Regions from separate parts of the Homo sapiens genome. Here all the other regions are linked to region 1. Evidence: promoter capture Hi-C in 16 types of primary human blood cells and fetal thymus (Javierre and others, 2016). All regions are on one chromosome and are shown on one strand. Each heading gives the region's core, a stretch centred on a gene start or on the middle of the fragment in contact. The rest is flanking DNA. Distances are from core to core; before and after follow the strand shown.

Region 1 (4,437 bases), core at 1,415-3,914:
AGAGATGCCCGCTGCACCCAGGCAGGGCTCGCCTTTGTTTGCCAGTAATGGGAATTACTCATATCTTGTGCCCAGTGCCCAGCACAGGGACTCATCGAATCCACCCCTCAGTTAACACAAGTGTCTCTTACAAGACCTCCATTTTCTCCAGCCAGGAGATGGGAAGTCCCAACCTTGTGCTAAAGTCTCTGGGGCCTCTGCTTCCCCATCAGGGCTTTCTGCCTCTGCTGTGGGCAGGTTACCTTTATGCCTCGGAAGAGTGCAGACCTCCATGCAGCGGGTGAGGCTGCCAGCCTAGGTGGGGTGTCATTGAATGTCATGAAGGGAGCCAGCCTTCATGCACTCTGCCTGCGTCTCCTGAACAGCTTTGGACCAGGAGTTGCTACCTTGTGCGGAGAACGTGTGGTGCATAAGAACAACCGAGCCTCTGCTCTTCGAAAATGTATATTCTGGCCAGGTGCGGTGGCTCACGCCTGTAATCCCAACACTTTGGGAGGCCAAGGTGGGCAGGTTGCCTGAGGTCAGGAGTTTAAGACCAGCCTGGCCAACATGGTGAAACCCCGTTTCTACCAAAAATAAAAAAAATAGCTGGGTGTGGTGGTGCATGCCTGTAGTCCCAGATGCTTGGGAGGCTGAGGCATGAGAATCGCTTGAACCTGAGAGGAGGAGGAGGTTGCGGTGAGCTGAGATCACACCACTGCACTCCAGCCTGGGAAACAGAGCAAGTCTCTGTCTCAAAACAAAACAAAACAAAACAAAACCCAGTATATTCTAATAAGGAGGAGCAGAGAATCAACAACAACAACAAAAAAGTGTAAATAATTTCAATTAATAGTAAGTGCTGTGGGTCAGGCACGGTGGCTCACACCTATAATCCCAACATTTTTCGAGGCTGAGATGAGAGGCTCACTTGAGCCCAAGAATTCAAGACCAGCCTGGGCAATAGAGAGATACCCTATTTCTACAAAAATTACACAGATTAGCAGGGCGTGGTGGTAGGAGCCTGTAGTCTCAACCACTGGAGAGAAAGAGGTGTAAGGATCACCTGAGCCCGGGAGTTCAAGACTGCAGCGAGCTGTGATTGTGCCATTGCACTCCAGCCTGGATGACAGGGAAAACTCCTGTTTCTTAAAAAAATAAGTAAATAAAATAAACATTAAAAACAGCAATAGCAAGAAATACATATAGGCCGAGCACAGTGATTCGCACCTCTAATCCCAGCACTTTGGGAGGCCAAGGTGGGCGGATCACCTGAAGTCAGGAGTTCGAGACCAGCCTGGCCAACATGTTGAAACCCCGCCTCTACTAAAAATACAAAAAAAAAATTAGCCAGGTGTGGTGGTGTGTGCCTGTAATCCCAGCTACTTGGGAGGCTGAGGGAGGAGAACCACTTGAACCTGGGAGTCGGAGGTTGCAGTGAGCCAAGATCGCACCACTGTACTCCAGCCTGGCAACAGAGCGAGACTCCACCTAAAAAAAAAAAAAAAAGAAAGAAAGAAAGAAAGAAAGAAAGAAAGAAAGAAAGAAAGAAAGAAAGAAAGAAAGAGAAAGAAACACATAGGGAGCTTTTCTTGTGCCCCAGCACTGTGTTTAGTGCTGTCTATGCATTATCTCATAATGTGGAAAAGCCATAGCGGCTCCATTTCACAGATGAGAAAAACTGAGGCCCGCAGGTGAGATCACTCATGCCCACTGGTCTGCCAGCTGGGGAGTGGCTGGGCTAGAGTTCAAACCCACTTCCAGTCCGACTGCACGGCCTGCACTCTCCACCCTACCATCTTCCACAGTCTCCTTGAATTCCTCCAGGGCGAGGCCACGCCAGCGCACAACTGCAGGGGGCGCCGTTCCCACAGCAGCCCTGCAAAGTGAGTGTGCCTGAGAAACTTCCGCCTCCCCTGCACCCAGCCCTGTTTAGGGCACGAGGCTGAATCAATGGTAAGTGACCATCTAATGGACCCACAACACGGTGACCTGGGGACAGTCATTTCTTTCTTTTTTTTTTTTTTTCTTTGAGACAGAGTCTCCCTCTGCCGCCCAGGCTGCAGTGCAGTGGCGCCATCTCGGCTCACTGCAACCTCCGCCTCCCAGGTTCAAGCGATTCTCCTGCCTCAGCCTCCCGAGTAGCTGGGATTACAGGCGCACGCCACCACGCCTGGCTAATTTTTGTATTTTCAGTAGAAACGGGGTTTCACCATGTTGGCCAGGCTGGTATCGAACTCCTGACTTCAGGTGATCCTCCCTCCTCGGCCTCCGAAAGTGCTGGGATTACAGGCGTGAGCCATGGCATCCGACCTGGGGACAGTCATTTCTTTGCCTGCACAGACTTTTTGGGGGATGCCACCCCTCACCCCTGCTCCCTTTGCAAGGAGAAGTGCCAAGAAGACCTTTCCCAACTCCCCCACCCCCCATTCTCTAAGGAATGAGGCCATCTTGCCATTTATTTATTTATTTGTCCGTTGTTTTGTTTTTAAATCTCTGATGCGCCATCAGAAAATTATTTCTGCCTCTGCCCCTGGCGTGGCTTTCGGAGATGCTTGTCTGTCAGCCAATGGGGAGGATCGGATTCTGGCAGGGGGCTGTGCTTTTCCGTCAGGCCGCCACCCCCCACCCCCTCCTCCCTGCACACAAAAGCAGCATAAATTAACCGTCTTCGGGAAGCCGAGCCTCTGCCAGCCCTGAGCTGGGAAGAAGCAGCTACCTCGGAGGCAGGGCGCGCAGGCGGGCGGCGATGAGAGGGGGCGCAGCCGCAGCCCCGCGCTGGGGAGCCCACCGCTAACCCTGCACCCCACCCACCCCTGCACAAAAGAGCTGGCGGGCGCTGGCCACGTCGCCCTGGGTGACCTTCCTCGGATGCAGAATCCGCCCCTGCGAGCATCCTCTTCCTCCTAGGCTCTGAAGGCCCGGGGAGCGTGAGCGATGCCCAGCTGCACCCGGGCAGGGCTCGCCTTTGTTTGCCAGTAAGGAGGAGAGGCTGTCTCAGCTGCAGAGGTGAGTGCGCGCATCTCCCCTTCTCCCAGGATAAACCGTCTCCCTGGAAGGTTTATCCGGCAGCCTTTGCCGCCTCTAAATCCCTTTCCAGCAGATGGGGCGGGTGGGAGCAGAGAGCCACGGTCTTGTGACTCCGTGAAGGCCCTCACATCCCTGTTCCCGGTACCAGGGAAAACCGTTCCCTGAGCTGCGCCCAGCAACACAGTTTACCTTCCGCGCGCACCGTTCCCCTCTAAGTGCACCATTTTCAGGACACGCTGAGAGCTCGGGCGGATGAAAACCTCAGCTTCTCTCTGGGACGCTGAAATAGACCCATCCTAGCCCTATGTATTTCCTATTTATAACGCTAGGAAGGCCACCAGCCGACGATTTCGGGAAAAAAAAAAAAAAAAAATCTAAGTGTGTCGATAAAGGCTGTCCTGTGGGGTGGGGAGGAAGGGGGTGGTTTATGGTTTAAGACACAGATGCCTCCTCCTTATTGGAACTCGTATGTGATTTGTTAATAATCAGACATCAGGGCTCAAATGAGCGCTTCACTCCCGTTCCTTGATGTCACTGTCTTCTTTTGGCCGTCCCCAAATGCGAAGCCAGGATCTGAGTGCAGGAGTGTCCGGGGCCCACTGAGGACCCACCCCACCCCATCCTTAGAAGACTGTGGAGTCAACGCCTGTGGCTGCAGCTGGCAGGGGGTGGGGGTCGGGGGCGGGGCTGGTGGGAGTGTTCCTGGGGGCTGAGGTCACACCCAGCTCAGTATAAGGAAGGGAGAGGCGAAGACCCCTTCCTCCGGAGAGCAAATGCGTTTCTACTGCCGAGGAGAACTTACCCTCGCGGGAAGGGCCTGGCTGGCTGCTGCCACCGCCCCCCCCCCGACCCCATAGCATCCAGGAGGGATTTTTTTTTTTTCCATGCTGCGTGTTACTGTCCCTCCTCCAAGCATGAATGACGACATTGAGGACAGAGAATCGAGTGAGAAACGCTCACCCTGTACGGGGGAGGGTCTAGTTTTAGCCGTCCCCTCCCCCCACTTCCTCATCTGGCTGAGGCTGCCTCTGGGTCCTTCCTTGCTAAGCCACAGTCCCCTGTCCCCGATGCAAACCCGATATCTATGCTGGGGGGCTGCAGGTAACCTACTCCACAGAGAGGCAGCCTGGATGCCATGAGAGTTGGGGGCCTTAGATGCTTCATGTATTTGGTTTTTTTGAGACAGGGTCTTGCTATCTTGCCCGGGCTGGTCTTAACCTCCTGTGCTCAGGCGATCCTCGCAAAGTGCTGGGATTACACGTGTGAGCCACTGCCCCCAGCCAGATGCTTTATCTTTTATTTTATTTTTTGAAGTAGGGTCTCTGTTGCTCAGGCTGGAAAGCAGTGGCATGATCATAGCTCACTGCAGTCTCGACCTCCTGGTCTCAAGCGATCCTCCAACTTCAGCCTCCTGAATAGCTGGGACTT
Region 2 (4,437 bases), core at 994-3,493, 340 kb after region 1:
CTGAGCTCATGGCCGGGCACCGTGGCTCACGCCTGTAATCCCAGCACTTTGGGAGGCCAAGGTGAGTGGATCACCTGAGGTCACAAGTTCGAGACCAGCCTGGACAACATCGTGAAACCCCGTCTCTACTAAAAATACAAAAATTAGGTTGGCATTGTGGCACGTGCCTGTAATCCCAGCTACTGGGGAGGCTGAGGCAGGAGAATCGCTTGAACCCGGGAAGTGGAGGTTGCAGTGAGCTGAGATTACACCACTGCACTCCAGCCTAGGCGACAGAGCAAGACTCTGTCTCAAAAAAAAACAAAAACAAAACAAAAACAAGCAAATAGTAGCCAGGCATGGTGGCACCTGTGGTCCCAGCTACTTGGAAGGCCGAGGTGGGAGGATCACTTAAGCCTGAAAGATTGAGGCTACAGTGAGCCATGATCGCACCACCGCACTCCAGCCAGGAGTGCAGGTCCGGAGCAACAGAGCAAGACCCTGTCTTAAAAAAAATCCAAAAACAAAAGAACAAAGTAGAAGGATCATATGAATTCTGGGGTCTAGCATCATTGGAGTCTTAGTGTCCTGAGAGTCATGCGTGGGCTTGGGCCACAGGTGCAGCGTGAGGCCCTGTTCATGAAGAGTGAGCGACACGCAGCCGAGGCACAGCTGGCCACAGCAGAGCAGCAGCTACGGGGGCTACGGACCGAGGCGGAAAGGGCTCGCCAGGCCCAGAGCCGGGCCCAGGAGGCTCTGGACAAGGCCAAGGAGAAGGACAAGAAGGTGGGTGCCCCCTCTCCCACACTCAGTCAGGGAGGCATCCACTCAGCAAAGGTTGGGGCCAATCTACGAAGGTCCTCACTGCAAGGGCCTTGGAAAATCAACCCATTTTCCAGAAGGGAAACTGAGGCTCAGAAACGGAAGGGGACCTGGTTACAGCCTCTGACAAGTCAGACACACACAGGCTGCTGTTCCAGGTACCAATTATAACCACAGTTACATTTATTTTATTTTTTTACTTGAGACGGAGTCTCGCTCTGTCGCCCAGGCTGGAGTGCAGTGGCATGATCTCGGCTCACTGCAACCTCTGGGTTCAAGCAATTCTCGTGCCTCAGCCTCCCGAGCAGCTGGGATTACAGGCATGCGACACCACACCCAGCTAATTTTTTATATTTTTAGTAGAGATGGGGTTTCGTCACGTTGGCCAGGCTGGTCTCGAACTCCTGAGCTCAAGTGATCCGCCTGCCTCAGCCCCCAAAAGGGCTGGGGTTACAGGCGTGAGCCACTGCGTCTGTCTCCACAGTTACATTTATTGAGTGCTTACTGCATGCCAGGCCCTGTGGACTGGATGCATTTAGTCACATCCAGTTCTCACAGGATAGGGGCTTTTATTATCCCCATTTGAGGAAACAGAAGCACAGAGAGGTGAAGTCACTTGCCTAAGGTCACACAGCCATGCAGTCTTTCAGCTGGGTTTGTACCCACGTTCCCACGTTTCGTTCCTAAACAATACTAATGATGATAACAACAGCCTCCAGGTGTTAGATTGGGAATTTTTCACACATTACCTTTTTTTATTGTTGTTTTGTTTTTTTCTGAGGCAGAGTCTTGCTCTGTCACCCAGACTGGAGTGCAGTGGCGTGATCTTGGCTCACTGTAAACTCTGCCTCCCGGGTTCACGCCATTCTCCTGCCTCAGCCTCCCGAGTAGCTGGGACTACAGGCGCCTGCCACCACGCCCGGCTAATTTTTTTGTATTTTTAGCAGAGATGGGGTTTCACCATGTTAGCTGGGATGGTCTCAATCTCCTGACCTCGTGATCCGCCTGCCTCGGCCTCCCAGAGTGCTGGGATTACAGGCGTGAGTCACCGCGACCGGCCTCACACATTACCATTTTTAATCTTCCTGCAACGCTAAAAGCCAGAAAGCTTTTTTTTTTTTTGGCAGAGTCTCACTTTGTCACCCAGGCTGGAGTGCAGTGGTGCAATCTCAGATCATTGCAGCTTCGACCTCCTGGGTTCAAGCGATCTTCCTGCCTCAGCCTCCTGAGTAGCCAGGACTACAGGTTACAGGTGTGTGCCATCATGCCTGGCTAATTTTTTTGTTTCTTTCTTTTTTTTTTGAGAGAAAGTTTCACTCTGTCGCTCAGGGTGAAGTACAGTGGCATGATTTTGGCTCACTGCAACCTCACCTCCCGGGTTCAAGAGATTCTCCTGCCTAGCCTCCCGAGTAGCTGGGACTGCAGGCGAGTGCCACCACACCCAGCTAATTTTTGTATTTTTAGTAGAGACTGGGTTTCACCATGTTGGCCAGGCTGGTCTCGAACTCCCGACCTCAGGTGATTCAGCCTCCCAAAGTGCTGGGATTACAGTCATGAGCCACCGTGCCTGGCCTGTTTTTTTTTGCTTTTGTTTGTTTGTTTGTTTGTTTGTTTGGTAAGAGATGGGGTTTCACCATATTGCCCAGGTTGGTCTCAAACTCTTGAGCTCAAGCGATCTGTCTGCCTCAGCCTCCCAAAGTGGTAGGATGACAGGCGTGAGCCACCGCACCTGGTTTCAGAAAGTATTTTTGTCCCCATTTTCCAGATAAGCAAACCAAAGCTTTAAGAGATGAAGTGAGTGGCTCAAAGTCACGCAACATGTCACTGGACAGGAGACGAGACACCCAGAGTCCCAGGCGCTTCAGCATAAAGAATGACCCAGCCTCGACTCACTGTGGGACCTTAGACCAGACACTTCACCTCTCTGAGCTTCAGTTTCCCCTCTGTAAAGGGAGGGCAAAATTGCAGTTAGGATGATGGTTTATCTGTAGCCTGGTTTCTTCCCTTGCACACTGTGGACATAGGAGCGGGATCATTTCCTGGGCTGGGGCCATCTGGGCATTGTAGGGGACTGAGCAGCGTCCTTGACCTCTACCCACTCCAAGCCAAGAGCTCCTCCAAGTCGTGACAACCACAGATGTCCCCACACAACACCCAGTGTCCCCTTGGGGGGCAGAATTGCCTCAAGTTGAGAACCCCAGATCTATAGTAATAATAAGGCCCGGCATTTATTGAGTGCCTACTGTTGACTAGGCACAGTTTAAACTTAATCTCTGTGCAGGATCACAGCAACTACTAAGTTAAGAACTATTGGCCGGGCGCGGTGGCTCACGCCTGTAATCCCAGCACTTTGGGAGGCCCAGGCAAGTGGATCACCTGAGGTCAGGAGTTCAAGACCAGCCTGGCCAACATGGCGAAACCCCGTCTCTACTAAAAATAGAAACATTAGCCAGATGTGGTGATGGGCACCTGTAGTCCCAGCTACTCAGGAGGCTGAGGCAGGAGAATTGCTTGAACCTGGGAGGCGGAAGTTGTAGTGAGCTGAGATCACACCACTGCACTCCAGCCTGGGCAACAGAGCGAGACTCTGTCTCAAAAAGAAACAAACAAAAACAAAAAAATGTGAAAACCAACCTTAGCTTGTGGGTTGTATAAAAACAGGCTGTGTTGGTAACCATAAGCATCTAAAATATAAATAAATACAATTAAAACAGGCTGTGGGCCAGACGTGGCCCTCAGGCCAGAGTTTGCTAACCCCAGGGACGGGACCTTCCCTTGAAAGCCTTTATCCCTGGCCTCTTCCTGCGGCTGCAGAGAGGTCCTCAGCCCCCAGCTCTGGGCTTAGGGTGATCGCTGACAGCACCTGCACCCTCAGATCACAGAACTCTCCAAAGAAGTCTTCAATCTTAAGGAAGCCTTGAAGGAGCAGCCGGCCGCCCTCGCCACCCCTGAGGTGGAGGCTCTCCGTGACCAGGTGAAGGATTTACAGCAGCAGCTGCAGGTAAGGACTGGGCCACGCAGGGGCCAGGGGACCATCAGGGTGGAGGAGTCCAAATATTTACCAATCAGCACAGCGCAGGTGGGAATCCCAGGAGAGGGGCTGGGGTAGGCAGGTGGGGTCCACATCACATGCACGGCATGGCCAGGAAATACTTCCTTTATTTTTTTTGAGACAGGGTCTCACTCCATCGCCCAGGCTGGAGTGCAGTGGCACAATCTCAGCTCACTGCAGCCTCCACCTTCCGGGTTTAAGCAATTTTCATGCCTTAGCGTCCTGCGTAGCTGGAATTACAGGCACGCACCACCACACCCAGCTAATTTTTGTATTTTTAGTAGAGATGGAGTTTCACCATGTTGGCAAGGCTGGTCTTGAACTCCTGGGCTCGCATAAGCCTCCCAAAACGCTGGGATTACAGGCATAAGCCACTGCTCCTGGCCGCCCTCTGCCTTTTTTTTGGACATAGGATCTTGCTCTATTAGGCTGGAGTGCAGTGGTGCAATCATAGCTCACTGAGCAGCCTCAAACTCCTGGCCTCAAGCAGTTCTCCACCTCAACCTCCCAAAGTGCCTGGCCATACATATATATATATATATATATATATATATATTTTTTTTTTTTTTTTTTTGAGCCAGTCT
Region 3 (4,437 bases), core at 517-3,016, 320 kb after region 1:
TGGGGCAATCATGGCTCACTGCATCCTTGACCTCCCGGGTTCAAACGATCCTCCTGCCTCAGACTCCCAAGTAGCTGGGACCACAGGCGTGCACCACCATGCCTGGCTAATATTTTAAATTTATTTGTAGATACAGGATCTTGCTATGTTGCCCAGGCTGATCTCAAACTCCTGGGCTCAAATGATCCTCCCACCTCGGCCACTCAAAGTGCTGGAATTACAGGCGTGAGCCACCTCACCTAGCCTCCTCCTTTTTTTCTTGACATAGAATCTCCCTCTGTCGCCCAGGGTGGAGTGCAATGGCGCAATCTTGGCTCACTGCAACCTCCACCTCCCAGGTTCAAGCAATTCTCCTGCCTTAGCCTCCTGAGTAGCTGGGACTACAGACCTATGCCACAACACCCACCTAAAATTTTTTTGTATTTTTAGTAGAGATGGGGTTTCACCATGTTGGCCAGGCTCATCTCGAACTCCTGACCTCAGGTGATCTGCCCGCCTCGGCCTCCCAAAGTGCTGGGATTACAGGCGTGAGCCACCGTGCCGGCCCTTCTCCCTTTTTTTTTTTTTTTTTTTTTTTTGAGGTGGAGTCTCGCTCTGTCACCCAGGCTGGAGTGCAGTGGCGTGATCTCGGCTCACTGCAAGCTCCGCCTCCCGGGTCCACGCCATTCTCCTGCCTCAGCCTCCCGAGTAGCGGGGACTACAGGCGCCTGCCACCATGCCCGGCTAATTTTTTTGTATTTTTTAGTAGAGACGGGGTTTCACTGTGTTAGCCAGGATGGTCTTGATCTCCTGACCTCGTGATCCGCCTGCTCGGCCTCCCAAAGTGCTGGGATTACAGGCGTGAGCCACCGTGCCGGCCCTTCTCCTTTTTTATTACCTACTGTGTGCCAGGCACTGGAGCCCATCATAAATCCCGGTTACCCTTTGAACCACAGGCTATTAGCCCATTGCACAGATGAGGCTTGATGAGGCTTAATGAGGCTGTCACTTGTCCGCAGCAGGTAAATCGTAGGGAATCCAGGTCGTCTGACCTCAAGGAGCAGTCGAATGTACTCCTGGGCTTTGTGAGGATGAGGAGAGGTCCCTAGGGTTTAATTTCCTTTGTGGAGCCCCTAGGAGATACCAGGAAAACCATAGCTCCAGGCAGCTGGTACCCTCATAATCACCTAATCCAAACTCCTTCCCAGAGGGAGGGAAAGGGACCCACCGACTTGAACCAGAACTCAGCCCCCGACCTGTCCGCTGTCCCCGTGAAATTCAGGCATGGCTTTCGCTGACGACTCAAGAAACATCTGTTCTTTCGGAAACTCAGAATAAAATAGGGCTTTGGGGGTTTTAGTCACTGGGTGAGAATTCTCTGCAGTTGGAGTATGCTGCCACCTAGTGGCGGCAATGCTTCTGGTCACAATATAGGAGTCCGTTGGTTTTTGTCACTCAACAGTTAACTGAGCACTCTGGGAGGCCCAGGCGGGCAGATTAGCAGAGGTCAGGAGTTCGAGAATAGCCTGGCCAACATGGTGAAACCCTGTCTCTACTAATAATAAAAAATTAAGGCCGGGTGCAGTGGCTCACGCCTATAATCCCAGCACTTTGGGAGCCTGAGGCGGGCGGATCATGAGGTCAGGAGATCAAGACCATCCTGGCCAACACGGTGAAACCCTGTCTCTACTAAACAATGCAAAAAATTAGCCAGGCATGGAGGCATGTGCCTGTAATCCCAGCTACTCGGGAGGCTGAGGCAGGAGAATTGCTTAAACCCGGGGAGTGGAGGTTGCATAGAGCCGAGATCATGCCCCTGCACAGCCCGGGCAACAGAGCGAGACCCCATCTCAAAAAAACCAACCAACCAACAACAACAACAAACAGTTATTGAGTACCTACTGTGTGTCAGGCACCGTTCTACGTGTTGTAGATAAGGTTTGCAGCAATCAAAACCTCATACTGCCTCAGACATACAGCAGGTATTCAAACAGAGTTTGTTGACTGAAAAATGGATTTTTGTGCTTAATCAGACTGGATGTCAACCTGCTGGAATTCATACCCAGGGATTCCAGAGACCATGCCCTTGTGTCAGCTGCACAGCCTCCTGGGGAGCCTCCCTGTTTCCACTCTGGTCCTGGGCAAATGGCAGTAGGAGGGATCTCTTAAAATATAAATAGACAGGCCAGGCACAGTGGTGCACGCCTGTAATCCTAGCACTATGGGAGTCAGAGGTGGGAGGATTGCTTGAGCCCAGGAGTTTGAGACCAGCCTGGGCAACATGGCAAAACCCCATCTCTACTAAAAATATAAAAATTAGCCAGGCGTGATGGCTCATGCCTATAATCCCAGCTACTCGGGAGGCTGAGGCAGGAGAATCGCTGGAACCGGGGAGGCGGAGGTTGCAGTGAGCCAAGATCACACCCCTGCACTCCAGCGTGGGTGCAGAGGGAGACTCCATCTCAAAAAATAAAAATAGGTCGGGTGCGGTGGCTCACGCCTGTAATCCCAGCACTTTGGGAGGCCGAGGCGGGTGGATCACGAGCTCAGGCAATCGAGACCATCCTGGCTAACACGGTGAAACCCCGTCTCTACTAAAAATACAAAAAATTAGCCGGGTGTGGTGGCGGGCGCCTGTAGTCCCAGCTACTCGGGAGGCTGAGGCAGGAGAATGGCATGAACCCGGGAGGTGGAGGTTGCAGTGAGCCGAGATCGGGCCACTGCACTCCAGCCTGGGTGACCAGAGCAAGACTCCGTCTCAAAAATAAATAAATAAATAAATAAATAAATAAATAAATAAAATTAAATAAATACATAAACACATAAACGGGGCCGGGCATGGTGGCTGCAGCCTATAATCCCAGCACTTTGGGAGCCAGAGGCAGGAGGATTGCTTGAACCTAGGAGTTTGAGACCAGCCTGGGCAATATAGTGACATTCCATTTCCATAAAAAATTAAAAAAAAGAATTAGCCAGGAGTGGTGGTGCACGCCTACAGTCCCGGCGGCAGATTGCTTGAGCCCAGGAGTTCAAGAAAAGCCTGGGCAACGTAGCAAGACCCTGTCTCTAAAAAAATAAAATAATATAATATAAAATAAAATAAAAATTAGCCAGGCACGGTTGCACATGCCTTGTAGTGTGGGTCTCATTCCTGTAATCCCAGCCCCTTGGGAGGCCGAGGCAGGAGGATCACTTGAGCCCAGGAGTTCGGGACCAGTCTGGGCAACACAGCGAGACCCCGTCTCTACAAAAAGTATAGGGAACCACAGTGCTTGGGACTGGCAGTCGGCAGACCTAGATCCTAGATCTGACTCTGCCTCTTACCCCAGTGGGTGACCACTGGCCTGGTTGGGCCTCAGTTGCTGCATCTGTAAAATGCAAAACTTGCCTTTGTTACAAATTCCTCAGGGCACATGGGAATTTCTCATGAAATAAAGGAGCAGGGTCACACCCAGGCAGAAAGTGCCCAGAAAATGTCGAAGTCTCACCCTACCCCTACTCTTCCCCCTTTTGTTTGTCTTCCTTTCTTTTCTTGGTTTTTGAGACAAGATCTCACTCTGTCACCCAGGCTGGTTTGCAGTGGTGCCATCATGGTTCACTGCAGCCTTGAACTCCTGAGCTCAAGCGGTCCTCCCGCTTCAGCTGGGGACTCCCTAGTAGCTGGGGCCACAGACACACACCACCACACCCAGATAATGTTTGCTTTTTTTTTTTTTTTTTTGTAGAGACAGGGTCTCACTGTGTTGGCCCAGGTTGGTCTCAAACTCCAGAACTCAAGCGAACCTCCTGCCTTGGCCTCCCAAGGTGCTGGGATTACAGGGTTGAGCTACCGCACCGGACAACCTTTTCTCTTTTGCAGCGGCTGGTGGCTGTCTCTCCTGCTCAGAGGTGCTCTGCTCCTTTAAGGCACATCTAAACCCCCAAGATCGGGTAAGCTTCTGGGATCTCTTCAGGGAAGATGTTATGCTTGAGGTATGCTGCCACCAAGTGGCAGTATCTCAGGCACCCTTTGAAAGTCTGAGAAAGTTTGAGGTGAAACTCAAGGGCAGTTATATAGGCTTCTGCACCTCCCGGGGGTCAGTTTCTCATGCCATCGCATCCCTCCTCCTCCCTACCAGTCAGGCGCAACACCCCTCATTATAGCAGCTCAGATGTGTCACACAGACCTGTGCCGTCTCCTACTGCAGCAAGGGGCTGCCGCGAACGATCAGGACCTGCAAGGCAGGTGAGCATCTCCCCTCCCAGCCAGTCCACCCTATGCTGTGTGACCTTCGGCAAGACTTAACCTAAGTAAGACGATCTAGCCAGCCTCCTCTTCCCAGCCTGGCCTGGGTGCTGAGGTGGGCATGGGGGCTTGGGGGATGTTCTCATCTCCTCAGTAGCCCCCTCCCCTGGTAGGACGGCCCTGATGCTGGCCTGTGAGGGGGCCAGCCCCGAAACAGTGGAGGTCCTGCTGCA

Evidence for each region. Contacts are between HindIII fragments. The CHiCAGO score rates a contact against its expected background, and 5 or more counts as called.
Region 2: a fragment that was not itself captured here is called in contact with the fragment with the promoter of ATCAY in region 1 in 3 of 17 cell types (erythroblasts, M2 macrophages and M1 macrophages); the score reaches 7.3 in erythroblasts.
Region 3: a contact is called between a fragment that was not itself captured here and the fragment with the promoter of ATCAY in region 1, in 2 of 17 cell types (M0 macrophages and M2 macrophages). The highest score is 6.1, in M0 macrophages.

The regions. Positions count from the first base shown.
Region 1 is chr19:3,878,021-3,882,457 of GRCh38, forward strand. It overlaps ATCAY (ATCAY kinesin light chain interacting caytaxin), which reads left to right and starts at 2,665. Exons shown (of 13, transcript NM_033064.5): 1 at 2,665-2,988. RefSeq lists an enhancer at 2,340-2,870. The HindIII fragment of the contact is 12,603 bases long and covers 1-4,437 here.
Region 2 is chr19:4,218,994-4,223,430 of GRCh38, forward strand. It overlaps ANKRD24 (ankyrin repeat domain 24), which reads left to right. Exons shown (of 22, transcript NM_001393985.1): 19 at 598-765; 20 at 3,677-3,802. Among named protein-coding and RNA genes, the nearest start is that of EBI3, 8.3 kb to the right of the region's middle. The HindIII fragment of the contact is 672 bases long and covers 1,908-2,579 here.
Region 3 is chr19:4,203,404-4,207,840 of GRCh38, forward strand. It overlaps ANKRD24 (ankyrin repeat domain 24), which reads left to right. Exons shown (of 22, transcript NM_001393985.1): 8 at 3,839-3,909; 9 at 4,098-4,204; 10 at 4,378-4,437. Among named protein-coding and RNA genes, the nearest start is that of ANKRD24, 23 kb to the left of the region's middle. RefSeq lists a silencer at 1,535-1,748. The HindIII fragment of the contact is 4,292 bases long and covers 1-3,912 here.